Regions from separate parts of the Homo sapiens genome. Here regions 1 and 2 are each linked to region 3. Evidence: promoter capture Hi-C in 16 types of primary human blood cells and fetal thymus (Javierre and others, 2016). All regions are on one chromosome and are shown on one strand. Each heading gives the region's core, a stretch centred on a gene start or on the middle of the fragment in contact. The rest is flanking DNA. Distances are from core to core; before and after follow the strand shown.

Region 1 (2,791 bases), core at 192-2,691, 160 kb before region 3:
CTTCCTATTCCAGCCCTAATTAAAGAAAAAATAGCTAGTATGTTTCTAATTGAAACTAGAGTGAACTGGGCATCTTCAAAGTTATCATTTTCTTGGATATAAAAAAACAAAAGACCTGGGAAAGAAAAACAAGTGTTTTACAGAAATGAAGCAAACACATTTTCACATGACATAATCATTGACTTGGTGGTACACAGCTCAAGTCCAGCTTTCACTGATATTTCCTCATTAGATTAATAATTTTATTATAAAGCCTCCAAGGGGCATCCAGGCCCCAAATGAAGTCAAGATGCTCCCATTCCGGAATGCTCTCATGGAACACCAAGTTGGTGATCTGAGTCAGTAAGATATTGACGTCGTAGACATCTGCAAGCCAGTCGTGACCCCCGCTCCAGACTGCAGTCGGCACAAGCATGTCCTTCACATTGTATGTGGGAGGATAACTCTACAATGAAAAGGAACCAGAGAAAGCCTCGTTGTTGTTGTTGTTTTAATTTTCAAAATCACAATAAGCGCAATCTCCATTAAACATTGTCTAGTAAGTTTGACTAACAGACTAAATTTTTAAAATCTCTTTGAGTATCTTTTCAAGTTGCCATTACCGGCACAAAAAAAGAAATCTAACCCCAAATGAGAGAATGCTAATTATAATCGCCACTAGCTGTGGAGCTGCTGCCGTAGGCTGGGCACCAAAATGAATGTTTAATCCCCGGCAAGGAAGGTGTTGTACTCCATAGGTAGTACACTCAAGGCAATAGTGGCTGGAAAGAGTTTGGGGTCATGCCCTCCTACTTCTTCCCTTTGGGTGTAAGACAAGTCACAGAAATTCTCTAAGCCTCACTGTCCTCATGTTTAAGTCAGAGATAATCACGTTTACATCACAGAGATGCTCTGGGAATTAAATTTAAAAAACAGAGCAAAGTGCCTCACACTTCAGTGCATTTAGCATGCTCAAAAATGCTAATTTTATTAGTGCAGGGAAGAGGCTTAAGCAATGTAATCTGGCCAAGGCCCCATAGCTACCAGATAACAGACATAGGACTGTCTGACTCTACAGGCTATGTTCGTGATTACTCTGAGTAATGCATAACAGTGATGATTCTTATTTAGAGCTGGGGAAAGGACAAAGAGAGGAGGCCCAGTCCACAACACCAGCTACAAAGCTTGGATTGTTCTGAATGGACTGATGGAAAACAAACACTAGTCAACTCCTGCAAACATTTCCCACAGCACCTGAGCCTGGCCAGAATCCTGATAGGCCAGGCTGGCTTTCTTGATGAGTTTTCAGGGCCCCCTTTAATGAAAAGACTAAAAACTTTACCTGGTTGTAATGAAAATAATTCTTGGCACTGCTTCCCCAGTCAAAGGCTTGAAACTTTTGGAATTTAACAGCCTAAAAAGAAGATAATTTGGAAAAGAGTTATCTGACACCAAAGTTAGAGATAACATCATAGGTTGCTGGAGCTAGCCACAACCTCGGAAATCAACTTTATACCAATATCCAGATTTACTCTTCATTTCCAAGGCATTATTTTAAATGAGATGGCATGGTTTTGTCCTGCTTTACTGAATGACTCAATTTCTCATTGTATGATTGTTAAGCAGCTACCACCTGACACAAGAAAGCAGCTATGCACATATGCTGTCAATTATACTAGATCAACAGTTGCTCCTGCTAGCGGAACTTTATGCTGACATTTTCTGCTGAAATTTGCATCCTAAGCTTTTTCAAAGAGTTAGTCATTTTACTTGGGAAATAAAGGTAGACAGATAGGTAGCTACATATATATATACATATATATATATATAATAGAGAGAGAGAGAGAGAGATGGATATATATAGATAAAATAATTATAATATACAATTGGCCCTCCATATCCAGTTTTGTATCTGTGGATTCAGCCAAGTGATATTTTGCAGATGGAAAATATTTGGAAAAAAACAATAAAAGATAATAAAACAATAAAAAATACAAATTTTAAAACAGTGTAACACCTACTTACATAGCGTTTACATTGTATTAAGCATCATAAGTAATCTAGAGATGATTTAAAGCATATGAAAGGATATGCATAGGCTATATGCAAATACTACATCATTTTATATAAGGGACTTGAGTATCTGTGAATTTTGGTTTGGGGATGATGTCTGCAGCCAGTCCCCAAAGATACTTGAGGGATGACTGTATATTTTCTATTTACCCATTCTACTTGTCTAGTTATATTAGTCAAATTTTAATGATGGTATTGATTAAACACTTTTTCTTGAGTACTGGTATCAGTATAATCACCAAGTAGTACTGCATGCCAGCACAATTCTAACTAGTTAGGGATACTAGAGCCATGAAATTGAAATTGTATTGAAATTTACATTTATTCATATTTAAAATAGTATAATATAAAATATTAGCAAAATGTCACTTATTTTTAAAATTCAAAATAGTGCAAATCCATATTTCCTCTACACTCTCAAATTAAATGTATGTCAAAAATTAAACACAAAATTGGCAAGCCAAATGAATTTGAAATGGTAAGTTTTGGCCACAAGGTGGCGCCTGGTAAAAAGAAATGCTCAGACATTCTTTGTCAAAACTGCTTTTGATTTATGTGAAGTCTGTTCTAATCAACTGCATACAATTCTACTGTTTGATGTAATAAAAGACAGAGTGAGATGATATACTATAGGGGATTGTTACAGGAGAAATATTTGGCATCTGTTTTTGCCGTTGCAAATGACTGATATTAAATACCTGTGGCATATTTAACAAGCAAAACAAAATTTGGATTCACA
Region 2 (3,024 bases), core at 453-2,952, 130 kb before region 3:
AGCTGATGGTCTCCTTCTAAAGACTTAACTCACAAGCCACGCTGTGAATTTTCAGCTATGACTCTAATAGCTCAATGGACAACCCCTGGGGAATCTTTGCTGAGGCCACAGTTGAAAAGCCTGTTTCTGCATGCTGAAGGCAGTCATTCCAGGCTTTCACAGTCTAGAGTGCCACTTCACCCACTCGGCAATCAGATGCATAACTTTCAGATACAAATGTGCCACTCTTGGTGTGTGTATATATATATAAAATATATATTGTGCCTATCATGGCATCAACTTGGTTAATATTTATTATGTAAGGCCACATTCTCCAGTTCAAAGATCACTGAATCTGTAGTCAGACAGGTCAGGACATGACCCTCTGCCCTGAGACAAATTCATTTCCCTATTTGAACCTGGCTGTCTTATCCAACAAAATGAGGATGTTAGTCTAGAACACAGGTTGCCAAAACCAAGAATTCTACCTTGGAATCCACCAGTGAAGTGTGTTTAAAAAAAAACAAAAATCCCTAGCCCAGGCAGGAATCTGAGATCCCTCCAGTGCTAACTCCCCATGACTTTCTGAAATAAGGCTGAGCAGATGAAAACAGAGCCACTTCCCTATGAAGTGTAATTTCTGAATTTCAATTCCCTTCAGGAGCAAAGCATTGCTCAACACTTCCTAAGAAGGTTGCTTAATGGTGGGAAACAGCATGCACATACTGCACGAGTAGCCAAGGGCTACTACTGTGCAGAATGGAGGTGAAAGGTACAAATACCAGCTGGACAGAATATTTAAGGAACAGTGTGTATCTTCATTTCTGAGACCCCTAAAGATTGCTGAATGGCAATTTCACATCATTATAGCTAAGCTTTAAGAAACTTAATCCTGCAAAACCACATAGGATGAATGAGAACAGGAAGCCTGGCAGAGAAAAGAGCAGTTAGGTAAAGCCTTTAAGCAAACATGAGCAGAGAAGCCATGTGGCCAAGCCCTGTGTTCATAAAAAAAACCTGATCTCCAAGTGAGGCTACACAGTCAGTCAAAGAGGCCCATGGCAACAGGACTGAAAGATGCTCACCATTCAGCTGTAGACTCAGGTTCCACAAGGAATGTGGTACCAAAAAATGAATAATGTTTTAATACATTTTGTAATTACTTGTAAATAGTATGAATGTATAGCAGTATTTTTGTGTGTATTAAAAGCATTAATTTCTTAAACTATATAAGCAAACTGAATTTCCATAATCCTGTCTTGAAATTCTTTCTTTCTGTTAGTATACGAGGAGCCTTGAAAATGGAAATGGCTCAAGACTCTCTCAGCTGCTGAGCTTATTTCAGGCGCCCAGTTAAGTGGTAACAAGAGCCTAATGTAGGCTGGTGGTCAGGGAAACAGAAGAAAAAGATGAACTGAAGCAATTTAACGTGGGTGGCCTAGAGAGGACCCGTGGTCAAGAATGATTCTGCAGATTCCAGGCTAGGTCATTAGGAGGATGCTGGTGCTATTAATAATAGAGGAGGAAGTCAGGAGGGGAAGCGGGATGCATGAGAAGAGGACGCGTTTCACTTTGGGTGTGAAAGGCCTTCTCCATTCTTTTTATCTATTTGCCTTTAAACACCGGAAATAACACCAGTGGCAACAACCTTGCTCTTGAATAGGAGTGAAGGACAGTAAAGAGCCTCTGTCCATGCTCTGTTTTAGAATGTGGAAATGCAAACCATCAGGAAAGCGCCTATGCAGTTCTTAGGAAAATCACAATTCCTTTAGAGAACTGAGTTGTTCACTGTAGACTTCCTTGAAGACTCCCCACTGAGGTTAGCTCATAGCAGGTATGACATACACATCAGTGATCCCCTACAGGGAGGGCCTCTCAGAATAGAGAAAGAACATGAGGACCAAATGCTATGAACAGATTTAGCTTAGAGTAAATACTTTCAGTCTATATTCCCCCATTCTAAAGACCTAGACTCTCCACTCTCCCAATCCCCAACCCTCTTGCCAAAAATAAAATAAAGTATATATAATATATCCCACAGAGGTTAAAAAAAAAAAAGAAAAAACAAAGCACACAAGAAGTCAGGGGCAAACCCAGGTGTAGCACCAAGGTCCCATAAGTCTCCTTTCTATTACCTGGGAGCATATCAAGACTCATGCTCACTTTCTTCATATTCCAGGGCACTGCACCTTCCCCTGCAACAGTGTGATACACACAGGTAGGGCATGTGACTCTGAGTGTTTTAACCACTGTATGGAGAGAGAAGTCTGAAGCTGGATATAGGAGGAGAGCTCTCAGCAAGTTTTACTGAGATGCTTACCATCATTTAACAGTGATTCACGTTACTAATTAATCAACTATAATTTTAAGAAAAATAATATAAAGCATTTTTCTTTATACAGTGTCTGAAATCAGTATACAGGGGTTATTCTTTGGGGGAAAAAAAAGGAAGGAAACCAAGATCATATGCTCGCTCTAGCATAAAATATATGTTTTGAGTGTTTTGAGCACAGGAAAAACTAAAAGCTCTCACTATAACTCATCACTCATTTTATAACATATTTATAAAAAGGAAGCTTAATGGCATATATCTGTAAAGCATAAAAATCTCAAGAGTTAGAAATCAAATTTCAAAAAAAATGGTTGTCGTGGCCACCTAAACATTATTAAAATCTTATTACAGCTAGAACACATGGAAGAAAAAAGTTAAACTAGGATAAATTAAGAAAAAACAAAGCAAATAATAATACAATGCTCACATTAACACAAAGGGTGTTTAAGTTTGCTTTGAATAACAATTTGGGCAGGAATTGAGGCAAAGGTGGCTCTTTTGCCCGTATAACACTTAAATTGAAGAATAAATAGCTATCTAACTACCTTAATCTAAACCTTAATTTCCCCAAGAAAAGTCTCCAGAAACAAAAAAATGTTAGAGAATAAGCTACATCTTACTTGAACCTGGGAGGCGGAGGTTGCAGTGAGCCAAGATTGCACCATTGCATTCCAGCCTGGGCAACAAGACCGAAAATCCGTCTCAAAAAAATA
Region 3 (2,956 bases), core at 327-2,826:
TTTAGAAAGGTCAGGAGCAGTAACTGGAGCAGTAACTCAGAAGTTCCCTGAAAAGAAAGAGAAGAGCTGCCCCAGACATCTGAGAGCATCATTAACACCTGTGACCATGATGGGTCAAGACAAAATACAAGGCCACTCTGTAATCAGGTCTGAGTGCAGACAAAAATACGAATATTTTCCAACTGGATTCGAAAATAATCAAGCAGCCCCTTAAACTGGCCAATATGAATGACTGCTGCTTCCTTTCAAATTACACCTGTCACCTTGGTCTAGTCTTCTCTTTTTCCAGACACAATTTAAGATACCCAATTATAGAATCATTTCTGCTTCCTGACAGCCTCCCATCCCATGCCCATGACCACACCTTACCACATGGGAGCCTGGGAAATATAGTCTAGTTACAGGCCCAGGACAAAGAAGAAATAGCACAGCGAGGCTACAGTTTCATTTGGTAATTATGAGAAGACTGTAATGAAGTTAATAACCCTACCTTGAAATGCTCACTCAGAGGGAAATCGCTCTCAGTCTTTGCCCTTTTGCTTATCTTGGTGCACTACCCCTACAAAACCAAGATCCAGAAACGTACAGGATGACATTGTAACAATTCACAAGAGGAATTCAGAATAGCAGCTTTCCAAATTTTCCTTTTTCTCTGCTAATTGTGTGGGCAATTACATCAGCCTTGGGATCATATAAATTTTTCATTAAACATGTGAACATTGTTTGATTGACTCTCTGATGGTTGTTGCTTTGTAACAGATAATCTTCAAAATAGTAGAAACAGAAGAAACATAAGGACAACTCAGAAGAACTATGTGAATTTGGATTTAGATTTTTAACCCCCATGACCCCATCACATTCTCTGACTACATTGCATATGTTTCTCTACTGACCAGCTCAAACATTGTTGTTTGAACCACTAATGGTGAACAGTAAAGATCATCAAAACAGTCAATATGCTTGAATAGGCTCCACTATAGCCAGGGTTGGCAGTAATGCAAATGCTGCTGGAGGATGTAACCAGTATGGGACCCTTCTTATAGACCAATATCTCAAAATTGAGGAGTTGTTTTGCCTAACACAGCCCCACAGAAGAAGACCTAACCATCTGCAACCTCATTCTTCCACAAATTGACAATGACTTTCTACAGTATTCTTTTAGGCACAAACCACTGACCCTGGTCTAAGGAGCTTCCATTGTAGACGTCCCTGGAACCACCTGGCGGGATACATGTGATAGTAACAAGTTTGACAACAGAGTCTGACATGATTCACAAAAATATACGTTCCTGTCTGCCACTGGTTTTTCCACAACACTGAATGTCATCATAAAGTCCAGTTACCCTCTATCTCCTACACCACATTGACTCCAGCAAGGGAATTTGCGTATCAAAACTGCTTCTCACACACCCATCCTCTTAGCTGCCAAAACTCAGCATGTATTTGTAATCAAAGCAGAGACAGCCCTATTCCTCTGTATCATTTTCACCCTGCCAATTCACTAGGCATCAAGGGTGTAAAAAACTGCCTGGATATACCTCCCATATATAAGCACCATGCTTATCTGAGAAGCCCTAGAACTCTGTGGATGAACCTTGAAGGAGCCTCCAAGCCTGAACCAAAGCACTACAGATCACCTGCTATCTTCATAGCACCATGAGGTAAAGTCTTTCTCTGCTTCACTGACCTTATTTCTGCACACTTTGAAATTCTAAAACTTTCCTTAAGGGCCAATTTTTTGACAGGCCTTCTCCTAAGGGAGCTGTCCCACTGGTGGTTCTGACCCTGATAGGCACCCTCAACATGATAACCAAGAAGAGTTTAATAAGGGGGCTATTTAAGACGATATGGGCAAAGTTTAGGGAAATCAACAGGAAATGGTGCTTGTTGGTTGCAGGGCAGCGGGAAGAGGCGTGTTGGTTTACAACAGTGGTAACATGATAACCCTGGGCCTACAGGAGCAAGAGGAGAGAACCAGACCCAAGGAGACTCTAAGCTATAGCTGTAGGGGAGGGGCTTCTCAAGAGGCCTTTGGTGAAAAAATCACTGACAACCTCAAGCAGAGCACAGTGGGAGCTTAGGAATTAATTCCATGACCTTCACCTCCTCCTGCAATTTAATATCTGGCTGGTGCTCCCCAGTGGGCCAACCCCAGTAGAAAGTAAAAAATAAAAGAGTTTTGGAGTTAATAAAGTCCATAGAGTCAGCTTCCAAGCACAGAGCATGGTGAAGAATGTAGGAAAGTAGATTCAGAGGGGCAAGATGAGAATATATGTAGAGGCAAGTTTCCTAACTCCTGTTACAGAGCTCGCTTAGTAAGGGTAGCTGGCTTAATAAAAGCAGCAATGCTCTTAAGGAAATAAACGAGAAAGCAATCTTATTTCCAAAGATGTCATTTCTGTAGCACTTTCTAATAGAGGGACAATTACCCAGGCAACACTTAAAGACTGTTCACCAGGGAACAGAGGCCTGAGCCTAGAGAGGAGACTGGCCCGGGGACCAGTCAGGGCAAGAGCATTGAGATCCTTTTAATATACAAAATACTCTTTTAGGCATCCAGGTGAGAAGAAGCAGCTATTTTTATTTGATAAATTGGTTAAATTCACGTGGGAAAAAGAAGCTACTTTCAGAGATGGCTGTTTTTCTGTTGTTTGTTTGTTTTTGATACCAAGTCAAATTTTGTGATTACTGTGAAACTATGAAATTGTGATTACTATGAAATTTGCTTTTCACTGAATTAACTGTTCTCAAAGTGTGGTCCCCTGACTAGCAACATCAGCATCACTTGGGAAGGTAGCAGAAATGCAAATTCTCAGGCCCTACCCTAAACCTGCTGACTCAGAAACTCTAGGGTGGGGCCCATCAATCTGTGTGTTATAAGTTTTCCAGGTGATCATGTTGCCTGCTAAAATTTGAAAAACCATTATACTAGATGTTAGAAAATAAGAAATTTTGT

The links. The method cuts DNA at HindIII sites, captures the fragments that hold promoters and counts their contacts. A CHiCAGO score of 5 or more calls a contact.
Region 1: a fragment that was not itself captured here is called in contact with the fragment with the promoter of IFIT1B in region 3 in 2 of 17 cell types (M0 macrophages and megakaryocytes); the score reaches 6.0 in M0 macrophages.
Region 2: a contact is called between a fragment that was not itself captured here and the fragment with the promoter of IFIT1B in region 3, in 11 of 17 cell types (megakaryocytes, neutrophils, endothelial precursors and 8 more). The highest score is 10.2, in megakaryocytes.

The regions. Positions count from the first base shown.
Region 1 is chr10:89,214,617-89,217,407 of GRCh38, forward strand. LIPA (lipase A, lysosomal acid type) reads right to left here. Exons shown (of 10, transcript NM_000235.4): 9 at 1,322-1,393; 10 at 1-445. The coding sequence ends at 212. Among named protein-coding and RNA genes, the nearest start is that of CH25H, 8.7 kb to the left of the region's middle. The HindIII fragment of the contact is 560 bases long and covers 1,162-1,721 here.
Region 2 is chr10:89,241,568-89,244,591 of GRCh38, forward strand. The region is part of intron 3 of LIPA (lipase A, lysosomal acid type); the gene reads right to left. Among named protein-coding and RNA genes, the nearest start is that of LIPA, 8.7 kb to the right of the region's middle. The HindIII fragment of the contact is 1,701 bases long and covers 853-2,553 here.
Region 3 is chr10:89,376,480-89,379,435 of GRCh38, forward strand. It overlaps IFIT1B (interferon induced protein with tetratricopeptide repeats 1B), which reads left to right and starts at 1,577. Exons shown (of 2, transcript NM_001010987.2): 1 at 1,577-1,661. The coding sequence starts at 1,657. It also overlaps a transcript of LIPA not described here. The HindIII fragment of the contact is 6,433 bases long and covers 1-2,956 here.